Regions from separate parts of the Homo sapiens genome. Here region 2 is linked to region 1. Evidence: promoter capture Hi-C in 16 types of primary human blood cells and fetal thymus (Javierre and others, 2016). All regions are on one chromosome and are shown on one strand. Each heading gives the region's core, a stretch centred on a gene start or on the middle of the fragment in contact. The rest is flanking DNA. Distances are from core to core; before and after follow the strand shown. Region 1 holds the start of WARS2 (tryptophanyl tRNA synthetase 2, mitochondrial). Region 2 holds the start of MAN1A2 (mannosidase alpha class 1A member 2).

Region 1 (5,998 bases), core at 2,363-4,862:
AAGAGACATGAAAGCTAAATGCATTGTGGGACCCTGGATTTGATCTTGGACTAAGGAAAGGGACAGTGAAAAAACTAGTGAAATTTGAACTAAGTCTGTAGCTAAATTACTATTATTGTACCAATATTAATTTCTTGATTTTGATAACTGTATTATGATTATTCAAGACAAAGCTTGGTGAAGGGTATACAGAAATTCTCTGTACTAATTTTGCAACTCTGTAAATCTAAAATTATTTTAAAATTAAAAAAATTTAAATCTTGTGAGAATTAAATACAGGGTCAAAAATTTTAAACCACGCTTTTTTTCTTTTTAGGCGTAATTCTTCATCTAATGGCTATACTTAGCGATAGTTAACAGCAAGAACATTATGTGAATACTGGCCAAACCCAGACTAGGAACCGCTAATAATGAAACATGTTCAACTGCAATAAAATGTGGACACTTTATCATACTTCAACTGAATAACAAATACTTTTGCAAAAATCTACTAACCATCAATATTTCACTCTTTGCACAATACAATCATGACTTAGTGCTTAAAGAAGTATGGATTCTGTGTTTGGCCAATGATGACAGGCTTAAATTTACCTAATACCATCAACATTTAAACAGAACATGTCAGATCTTAACTCCTCTGACTTTATGACTACGCTCATCTTGTCAGATTTCAACAGTTTTCTGTCAGGCAACACCTGGCAAAATAAACCGTTTTCATATAAATTGTAGACATCCCATAATGAGTATGGAGTGATGTGCTGTTATTCCTGTTTCTCCCTGTTTTATTTTCAACTTGAGTTTACATCTGCATCCTCTGAGATAAGCAAAGATGCCCTATGCCAACATTTTTACCCAAGATTTTGTTTTAAAAAAAGAAAACACTAAAAACCATTAAAACAACTTAGGAATCACAACACTTTATTAGTTAGAGTTTCTAACATAGCACTGTTATGGCTCATTCACTTTTGCTTTACACCTAAGGGAGTAAGTGCACAGCCAAGGCTAATAAAAACTAACTTGGCTATTTCTTGGTTTTTGATGGAACCATTCATATGATAAATATACATTTTTTCCCATTATACTATACTCTTGCAAAATAATTTTTTTCTACAAAGGTTATGAGATATCATAAAAATGTCTAATGCATCTGGTTTAAGAATCCAATGCCTCTTTCACATATTTCTGCATCTGTTCACAAAATCCCTTTGACTTCAAAGGAAGCTTTTCAAGAGAAAAAGAAGATACATACAGGAAAAGTGGCCATAAATTTTTAGTAGTCCTTTTCTAAGGCCATTTTAATAACAGCATTGTGGGACAAGTATCTTCCTCAGAATCCTAAAATATCACAAATGATATTAATGACTAAAGATCTGTATAAAGATTTATGATTTCAAAACGTTTTTCTGGTTATTAAAAAGTGTGTGTCTTCAATTTAGACATGTGAAAAATATGTAATGCTATAAAAGGAAACAAATAACTTTTAACCCACTATTTAGGAAGGCCAAAGCAAAATAAAAAAGTTAAAAATGTTTGTTCCCTTCCAGGCTTTTTTTCTATGTATACGTTTATATAAACACTTATATATAAACATAACATCGTAATAACACTATGAACACAATTTTGTATCTTTTCTCAGTCTTTCAAAAAACCACATTAATCTTTCAAACCATCATTTTCAATGACTGAAATTATATGTAGATTTATACTTTAAAAAAATACTCTCACATTTAATACTTATTCTACTCAAAGCTAAATTAAAGGTTTAGAAACATTCATCGGTACTGGAAATTCTACATCTTGAAACAATCTAGATTAATAATTAACTTTAATAGCCCTATTCATAAATGCCACTGAAACAATAGTAGAGGTTTAAGAAATTTTTTCTTTAGCATTTATAATGACTTAGTGTCTTAAACTTCCCTGGGCAGTCATTAGCAGGCTGCAGTTTGTCTTTTTTTTCTCTCTCTCTTTGATTCTCTATTCTCAAGACATCTTCAATTCTTTAGTTTGGAATAAGGGGAAGTTTGGGTCTACGGCTTAGCTACTTTGATAGCATAGGTGTTAATGTGCTATAAATTATAAATAATCATCTCATTCTAGTTCTGCAGAATCAAACCCTCAAATTTCAAGGAGAGGAATTTTTGATAAATTTATCTAATTTTGAATTGTCTTACCTAACATTGCTGCTGAAATTTAAGGTGACATTTGAATAGTTGTTTGCTGACAAGCAGCTTTCCGGTATATATTAATATATTAGCTTATAAGAATTTTGTGAGGCTCACATTAATAAAAAACGGAAGTTCAAAAAATTTATGACATGACTAGAAAAATAAGTTGAACTTAAATTTTGGTTTTCATAATTACTCTCATTGGCTTTGTTTTGGCTTCATAATCATGGAACTATAGATTTTCCAGAGGTTGAAAGAACATTAACGTGTCAATCAGTCCAGCTCTCTTCCTCCACTCAATATGAGCAAAAAAAGAAGAAAAGTCCCAGAGAGATTGTGACTTGTCACACAGCTGTCAAGTGGCAGACCAAACCCTTGACCTCTAGGCTACCTTCCTGTCTAGCGCTGTTTTCAACACAACAGTTACAATAGGTGCGACATCCTCACACCTACTCATTATGGCAATACATATGCAAATGATGCCGGGAAATTACCTAATAAAATCACATTCTCTCCTTTCTCTCTAGTTCCCAGAATATATCTCCCGTAGATAAAGTATGTCAAAGTGCTTGCCACTGAGACTGTACTTGGAAGACGTTTGGTAAAATCCTGAATAACTGAAAGGGTATCCCCTCCCCCTGACTTTTTTGCTATGAGGGTAAAATTCCAAATATTTAAGACAATTCCCAATAAGACCAGGCCGCGACATGGTCTCCGTACGACGAGATTAATGGTAACAGCAGTGTTGTCAAGCGCAGGACAGGACAAACTCTGTAGCAGCTTGCGGTCACTCTTTCACAGCCTGCTAGATAGAGCAGTGCTGTGGAGCCACCAGGAGCAACCAGAATGGAAGATGCACTGACACTTGCTCAAGTACCACACTGCCAACCTGCTGCCCCGACCCAAGCTGCCCAATGCCTAACAAAACTTCTCTACTCTCTCCGATAGCCCCTTAGCGTGTTGTTAGGGTAAGGAGGGTAAAAACAGTAATAAGACCACAAGAAGAGCAGTCTCTAAAACAACCCGTCTCTGAAAACATCACACGCGGGGTAGGCTCACCGCGTTGCCCGGCAACAGCGGCGGCGCTCCGCTCCCAGAACTGGAGGTGGCGGCAAGAGGTCAGAAAGCGGCGCGCTTTTTCCACCAAGAAACCTTTACGTCATCACGTATCCTTGCAACGTCACTACGCTCTGAGCAGGCCGACAGTCATAGACGAGTAGACCTTAGGCGAGGGAAGGCATGTACTTTCCCTAAGAAGCGGGAGGAGAGAAATAAATAGAGGGCAGTGGGATGAGAAGAACCTCGCGGGATGGGAAGCCGCGGAGGGAAGGGCCGTCTTTGGTTACCTGGAGAGCGGGAGCAGCTGCGGATCCCTTATGAAGTGCCCGGATGAAGCTCCAGCGCTCACGCGCTTTCCGCATTGAGTGCAGCGCCATCTTGAGAAGGGCGGAGCCGTCTTGTTTGGAATGACGTCTGTTCAGAGAGCCAATCCCAGTCTCGCGACTCCTGCTTGCTGGGCGCGGCTTGGGCCTCCAGGCTGCGCAGCGCAGCCGCTATCGGGCGGACTGCAGTTCTTGCCGAGCAGGTGGGGACAGGAGCGGGGTGGGGCTTTAGTGTTTTTCCCTGGATCCCTTGTCTGCTCAGCCTTCCTGGAAGGAGAATTTCCTTGGGGGTTATTAGTAGCAACGCTTTAGACTGGAAGAAAGTCAAGTAGGCTGCATTTCTGATCTTAGCTATGTGAAGGCAACCTTTAAAAAGTTTGTTTAGAAACTCCCAGTTCTCTTAGAGGGTAATATAAGTGGTCTTTTTAGACATGTGTGGCCTCATTTCCCTTTTTTTTCTTTGAGACAAGGTCTCACTCTCGCCCAGGCTGGAGTGCAATGGCGCGATCTCGGCTCACTGCAACCTCCACCTCCCAGACTCAAGCTATTCTCCTGCCTCAGCCTCCTGAGTAGCTGGGACCACAAGGGTGCGCCACCACGCCCGGCTAATTTTTGTATTTTGGTGGAGACAGGGTTTCACCATGTTGCCCAGGCTCTCTCAAACTCCTGAGCTCAAGCCAAGCCATCTGCCTCGGCCTCCTAAAGTGCTGGGATTACAGGCATGTGCCACCGCACTGGACTTATGTGGCCTTATTTCATTCGTCCTGTAAACTTTGTTGAACCCTACCGTAATGTGCTGGGCACTGAAGGTACAGAGAAAGACATATCTTGTCTTCAAGTTGTGTACAGTCTAATAGAGTAGCGGATAAATAAATGATGTACACTTAATAGGTGTTAAAGAAGCAAGCACCGCAAGTTTTAAGGAGGAGTGGTTATGACTGTGGTGTTTCAACCTAGTCTAGGGAAGGCTGCAGGAAGGTTATACCTGATGGAAGAAATTGTTTTGTTTGGGGTTATGAGAAAGTTTAATACAGTTTTTCTGCTTCTGTTAATTCACCTAAAAATCTCCCAGACAGATAACGAGTGTTTCAGTAAAAATATAACTGGAAGAAATTCATGACAATTCCTTTATGTGTTTTGTTTATAATTCATCCAGCTACTGAAAATTACCAAGGAGAGGTAGGAGATAAGAGATGCCTATAAAGGAGCTGAAATCTACCAGGGTAAGACAAAACAGTAAATTAAAACCATATAGGATAATCTTGTAGGTATACAAAGTACTGGTGAAGTTCAAGTATAATTGGTGTAATTTAGAAGTGAGCAGGAAAGGGATGAAGGCAAAAAAAAAACTAGGAAATCAAGTTATAGTCTTCAACAAAGCTGATCAGTTTGGTTTTGGCTGTTAAATTTGAGGTGCTTGTAGTACTTCCAAAATGTGATGCCCATTAAATAGATACATGGGTCTGGAGCTCAGAAGAGATTTGAACTACCAAACAGATGGTAATTGAAACCAAGGAAATCCTTGAGACCATCAGATAGAGTTTGTGGAGTGAAAGTAGCCAGATGATGGAAATAAAGGAGCCAAGAGGTGTTGTAGAACCCAAAGAATGTGATATTACTGAGACCCTGGAAACAAACCTTGCCAGGGGAAGGGGGATATATGTTATGCCTTGTAAAATGCAGTTTAATAAATGCCCTACATGTTTTACTCATACATAGAGCAAAGCATTATAGTACAGTGTTTTACATATATTTTATTAATGAGATTACATGACCCTAGCAATTAGCAAGATTAGCTTTCTGACATCTTTAGTCATCTAGATAGCAAGATAAAACCTAGCAATAAGACTATGGTGCACCAAAAGCTGTCAAAGGGTGTACCTACTTTATTTCTTCAAGAAGTAGTTCTTAGTCGTATCTGCAGACTCCTATGACCAATAATATTTCCGTGGGAGGTATTTCCAAGACATAGTCCCACTAAAAAAGGTGGGACTTTAAGACCACAAGTTTTATAACTTTAGTATCCTGATTTTTAAAATTGAAAATATTTGCTAATTTTTAGACTTTGTTAGAAGTAATAAACTGTGTTTTGCACCGTGGCGGTGACCTGGTAACTCTCAGGTGTCACTCAGCCAGCCTTGCTTCTTGGACAAGGACTATAGTTTATATTTCTAACATCTCCCCCAGCACCTAGAATAGTCTCTTATGCAGAGTAGGCACCTCTTTTAAAAGTAAATTGGATTTTAACAAATTACACAGCTTATTGTCAGCAATTGTTATGCTTTTAACAGCCAGAAGGAACAGTTAACAGAAAAGACACAGGATGTATTAAAAATGAACCAGTTCTGTCTACTTTTGTACTTTTTCACAGTAAGCATTTTGGTGTTGGGGAAAGTATGACTACAAAGCTCACCATCTTCTAAGAGGAGGAATATATTCAGCTCAGTA
Region 2 (5,998 bases), core at 1,041-3,540, 1.8 Mb before region 1:
TGGTGTAGGAGTGTGATAACTGACGGTATCATCAATGACTTTAAAATTGCTGGCTGCATTTGGACATCTGCAATAACCCCTAAATTGTTTTTACTCTCATGAAGGAAAAATGAATTTTGCAAAACAGACAAGCAAAGGAAAAGGGGTCTTCTCCATCAGCAATGAGGTCTTACTTGCTTAAGCTATACTTGTCAACTAGGTTATGTCAGGTTTCATGATTGAAATCTCTTGTGGTTAAGTCTAGTGTTAACCTAGGTAATATTTATTTTTCAAGATTTATATAACTTGCTATTTCATTCAGAGTTCAGTATTTATTTCCCCTGAACTTTTCATGGAAACTAATGATCTCAACAGTAGGAAAACAGTGTGTTCTTCCCCGCCTCCCCACCGCCCCCCCCACTTTGGCTTACGGAGTCTCAACATTAGAGACTTATTCTTAAATTTGGCACATTTTATAAAGACATATTGGGAAGGCTAAAAGTTTCTTATATCTACTCTTCACAAATGTTCAACATAAATCTCACTAGGGACCGGGCACTCCTTGCTTACCAGTCTCCCTGGGTGAACTGGTGAGAGGTGGCCCTCAATATTTTTACTTTTTATTTGGTGAAGCAGGATCAATGACAATGACTTTTGTCATGTGGTAGGCAGTTAGATATGCAGAGCTTCTAGAAATAATGCAGACTGGGAGACTGGAATGTAGTTACAAGTGTGCCAATGAACATGAGACTTTTCTGCTTGATTTTTAAGCTAAGGCTGACTTACTCTCCTGACATTTAAGGGCCTCCTCTCCAATTCCCAGTCATCAGTAAAGGATGTGTACAGGGAATGACAATATTAGAACAAAAACAACCTGCAAGTAAATCGGATGCAAGAGTCTATGTATCTTGCAAGGAAATCTTTTGCACTTAATCACAACATGGCTCTCCTCAATACTACGGAGAACAGAATTGATTCAGATTGTTTTTAAGCCTGAACGTAAACAATATTGTCGCCTTTTTGGGTTTCAGCACCTCCTTATTCATCCATTTTCTCTTTTATGGGAAGGGGGTTGATGAGGTGTGTGAAGATGATAGAACGTGCCCCAGAAACTGAACAATGAAGAGACGCCTGTCATATCGGGGGTACCTAGATTCCTCTGAAAGGAAGCCCAGCTGAAGGAGCAGGGTCACCACTTTATTTTAAAAACGTAACATGGCACATGTTGGTGCTCTATTAATCGAGCCTCGGGGGCCCAATAACGTGAGCATGGGCTGCTGCGTGGAAGTTTGAGACCCTGTTGCTGAATCCTCGGGCCTGACGGTCTATCGCTGAAGACAAGACTTCCAAAGAATCACAGTAAACGTTAACCTAAGCCATCAGAAGCCATTAACTCCGGTGACACTACATTTCAGCGAAACCTTCGCGACCCAACCCCTCGCTCCCTCTCGCCCAAACGCTGGGTCAACCCCACGAACTGGCGGTGGCAAGGCCCTGGGCACCGGTGAAGTTCTCGTGGCAGCGCAGATCGGCGACCTTCTCTTCTTTCGCGCTCAGACGGCGGCGGCAGCAGTACGCTTTCGGGCTGCTGGAGCCGGCAGCGGCGCGAGGCCGGAGCCCGGGCAGCCAGGCTGGGTGGGGGAGGGGCGGCGGCAGCGGAGCCGGGAGCGTGCGCGCGCACCTCACACTCCGCCGCCCGGGGACGCCCACTCGCGAGCCGGGGCCGGTAGGCCGGCCCGGGTCCCATCGCCCCCGCCCTCCGGTTCCTCTCCGGCGTGAGCCCAACGGGTGTCGGCCCAGCAGCTGCTGCGCTCACCAGGCCTGGGGAGGCAGGGTACGGGGACCGGGCCGCAGCCCCGAGCGGCGTGGGCGCGCTGCCTCTCTGGCAGCCGCCGCCAGAGCCAGCAGCTGCGAGCCACCGGAGGCGGCGCGGAGGAGGCCCCCGCGGCCGGGCAGGAAGGAGACGCGGCCGACCTCTGCCCGCCCGAGGCGCGGCTGCTCCCGCGCGCCCAGGCCCTCCCGCCGCTCCAGGGCTGAGTGAGGAATGAGCCGGCGCCTACCCCGGGCTCTCGGAGCGTGGGCCCCGGCTCGGCTTCTTAGGCGCGAGGGCTCGGCCACTGCGGCCGGCGGCCTAGCTCGGGGAGCAGGCGCCGGGGTTCACTGAACCGGCCGCGGAGAGGAGGAGGAGGAGGAGGAAGAGGAGGAGGAGGAGGAGGAGGAGCTCGGCGGGGGCGGCCGCCGCGCCTCCCCTCCCCCAGGACACGCCGGGGCTTCTCAGTGGCCGCCGGAGGAGGAAGTTCCGCTCCCTGACAGACCCGTGCGGTAGCAACAGCGGCGGCGGCCGCGGCGGCTGGCCGGACTCAGGTGTTTCGGACGCTATTGCCCTTCGCGCCAGCCGTCGAGTGGGCAGCAGCGGGACTCAGCCGGGCGCCAGGTTCCTGCCAGGCAGCGCCGGGAAGCGCGGGCGGCCGAGAACTCCTTCCTGCTACTTCGCCCAGCGCCGCTGCTTCGGCTTCCCAGCGAAGTGGGAGACCTTCCTCCCTGTTTGCAGACGTCCGTGGGAGACCCTTATTTTTTCCACCGCTAAGGTTAAGAGATTCTGGAATAGAAGCGTCGAAGGAGATCAAGTGAACCTTCTACAACTCCTCGGATGTCGCCAGTCTCCCTTTCGGGGCGGAAGACTACGTTTGAGCATCTCACTGAGGTGCAGGAATGGAAGAACCCACCTTGCAGCTTTTCTGCAGTGTGGCTTGCCTGATCTACCCCTAGGAATGAAGAGGAGGCTTGTAATAATCCGATGAAGTACAGATGTTGAAGAGGATATCGCAGGACCTAAACTTGTGATCGTTTGGGGGAGGTCACACACGTTTCTGAGTGGGAATGGATGGGCGTGAATGACGTGCCCTCTTAAAAAGCACAACAGTCCTTTAAGAGGAGCAAAATTGAGTTTTCCCATTTTGGCCAAGATTTTGAAGACAGTTCAATGTATTCTACATTTGACATAAGATGAGAACTTTCTAAAGTATTCTCTCCAAGAGCGTAAACGATGACTACCCCAGCCCTGCTGCCCCTCTCTGGACGTAGGATACCACCTCTGAACCTGGGGCCGCCTTCCTTCCCACATCACAGGGCTACCTTGAGACTTTCTGAGAAGTTTATTCTTCTCCTTATTCTTAGTGCCTTCATCACTCTGTGTTTTGGGGCATTCTTTTTCCTTCCAGACTCTTCAAAACACAAACGCTTTGATTTGGGTTTAGAAGATGTGTTAATTCCACATGTAGATGCCGGTAAAGGGGCTAAAAACCCCGGAGTCTTCCTGATCCATGGACCCGATGAACATAGACACAGGTTTGTTTATTTCAGAAGTTCTGGTACTAACATTTGGCAGAGCAAGGTACGGTGATTGGATCGAATCTGTCTTTTTTTTTTCTTGCAGTAAAATGTAATTTTTCGAGTCATAAATATTGTATTGTTACTTCAAGACTGGCTGAATAAAACCATAGACTGGAGGGACTCTACCTCCAGTCTATGGTAGAGTCCATAGACTGGTAGGACTGGAGTCCTACCTAAGTCGTTCTTCTCTTCGGTTTTATATAAGAAAAACATTTGCGTTCAGAGTTGTGTCTAATGTGGACATCTGGGAAGGGAGGTATGAAAACTTAACCTAAAGAAATGGTGACATAAGCTGTGCCTGCATTTATTAATAACGTGTTGGAGTCAGTCATTGTGCCACCATGTGAAATCAAAGCATCGAACCTTGACAGCTCTTTTGGGTGTGCTCTCCCAGAGGGCTCTCGTTTTCTGGCTTGTAGTTGAAGCTTAGTAGTGAGTCAGCTTTTTAGGATGACAAACGTGGGCAGAATATACCTGTCATTTCTTAACGTGAAAATATCCTGATTTTTGTTCTTTTTTTGGGGATGTGTGTTGGTGCTGTATATGAAATCAGTTAAGTTAAAAGGTATTGAATCCTAAGTTATTGCACTTTGTGAGGCTTGTAGACAAGATTTATTTTTGTGAAACTTAATTTTGCTCTCTCTTTTAATGTAATAGATGGACTGTGTCAAGCAACTATTGGAATTTGGTTGATTAAGGGGTTCACATTCTTTCAGATCACTAAATCTAAAGTGAGCTCTGGGGAGAGCATAGCCAAACTAGGATAAAATGGGAGCTCTAGTTACAATTTTTATAATTTTTATATTTGTACTCAAGAGTTTGGGAAAGTAGTTGACTTTTCTTAAACCTGCCATCTTTTCCTTGTTTCTTAAAATAATTCTTGAGTATGTGGGAAAAAAAATCATGTGCTTGAATTCATTTCCCATCTGATGATAGTTTTAACTTTTTGTCAAGCACCGAAAAAGCTTAGGTTCACGTGTAAGCCTACATTAAATATTTGGGAAAATGCACTGTTTTATGAGAACTGGTTTTTCTTTTTTTCTCAACCTAGTTAATTCATTACTTGTGTGATGGTTCTTTGACTTTTGGATGAATTTTATGGAGTAGTTACTTCTAATATTGTTTCATGCCATTCTTTTGTAACTAAGTTAATTTGGAATTTTTGCCATTTTCGACTACTGTACTCCTGTATTTGTTTCTTTAATTTTGCACTTTGCTTGTTGTGACTTTAAGAAAACACTAATATGATCTGTGAAATATGTTACTGAAAAATTAACGGTGAAAGTAGTTTTCCTTGAAAATCTTATTTCGCATGGTATTTGTATAACATATGAAATATATTGAAAAAATGTGTTAAGGCTGTTTTTAGAGCTGTTTCACAACAGCCACACATTAACATTACTTAGCTCTATTATTAATAGTATCTGTCATGTACTAAGCAGTTTAAAAAATACATTTTGAATGGTCTAAAAGTTTAAAATAATATGACCACATTTTAGTTTAAAAACATTTACACAAAAATTCTCAGTAAATGGAGTTAAAATATGAAATTTGAATGAAAATACAGATATGTGCCTTTTATTCACATTTTTAACAGTCTGTATAAATAGTTTAAACAAGAATTCTTAAATTTATGAAGCCCTTGGATATATATGCATATGTATTTAGCTATCTAAAACTATTGGGTTCCTGAGTTTGGAATGAGAGATTGGTTATTGTTCTGATAGCAGGGGTGGTTTGTGAGCCATGCCCTGAGTTTTGGCTAGTAAGAGTCTGGATAGCAAGTGATACATGTGAGTCTGGATAGATTCCAATGCAGTTTTTGGAATCTATTCGGTTCCTGAGTTTTGGAAAACGAGAATTCAAATAGAGTTCAGGTGGCAAAGGATCCTTGTGTTATCTCTTTGTATTTCTGTGGTTATATCAGTTGACATTTGCTTTAGCGTATTATTTGCTGTTGTTTACTATATCAGAAAAGAGTCTGTAGTAATAAACTTTCTTTTACTTTGAGCAAGGAAATACTTTTTAAATTAAGTGTATGTTTAAAATGTGGAAACAGAAAACATCAAATGTATAAACATTAACTTATTTAAAAATAATTCAGAAAAATAGCACTTTTACAGTTGGTACTAAGATCATATGTATTTTGGGTATGGGTCAGAACTTACCTAATTTAGAAGAAACAAATTGACAGTTTATCTTCATTTAGTGTGTGTGTGTGTGTGTGTGTGTGTGTGTAAGGGTACAGGATAGAGGGCTGAGGAATGTTACTTTAACTAATAAGTAATGGAAAATAAGTCATGGTCACCATTTCTTATTTGCAGTACTTAAGAGATACTTGTTTAGTTAGTATTTCTTTATTAATAGATTAGTATAATAATTTGGTGTTTAAGTTCTGGAGTCAGACTGTATAGATTCATACCCTAGCTTGCCACTGATTAGATTTATGATACTGAGAAATTTTAAAACTCTATATTGTTTCCTTTGTATCACAGTGGCATGTATCTACTTTACAGATTGTTTTATTGAAAGAGATAGTACATGCAAAGCACTCAACATAGTTCCTGGCATTTAGTAAATGATCAATAAATGTTAACTATTATTATCATCAGTGATTATAATTGTA

Evidence for each region. The method cuts DNA at HindIII sites, captures the fragments that hold promoters and counts their contacts. A CHiCAGO score of 5 or more calls a contact.
Region 2: a contact is called between the fragment with the promoter of MAN1A2 here and the fragment with the promoter of WARS2 in region 1, in 2 of 17 cell types (monocytes and total B cells). The highest score is 10.6, in monocytes.

Annotation. Positions count from the first base shown.
Region 1 is chr1:119,137,041-119,143,038 of GRCh38, forward strand. WARS2 (tryptophanyl tRNA synthetase 2, mitochondrial) reads right to left here and starts at 3,613. Exons shown (of 6, transcript NM_015836.4): 1 at 3,515-3,613. The coding sequence starts at 3,604. WARS2-AS1 (WARS2 antisense RNA 1) reads left to right here and starts at 3,356. Exons shown (of 7, transcript NR_125975.1): 1 at 3,356-3,753; 2 at 4,707-4,773. RefSeq lists an enhancer at 3,385-3,694. The HindIII fragment of the contact is 7,742 bases long and covers 1,220-5,998 here.
Region 2 is chr1:117,365,159-117,371,156 of GRCh38, forward strand. MAN1A2 (mannosidase alpha class 1A member 2) reads left to right here and starts at 2,291. Exons shown (of 13, transcript NM_006699.5): 1 at 2,291-3,327. The coding sequence starts at 3,026. RefSeq lists a silencer at 1,527-2,346 and an enhancer at 3,217-3,356. The HindIII fragment of the contact is 7,016 bases long and covers 1-3,795 here.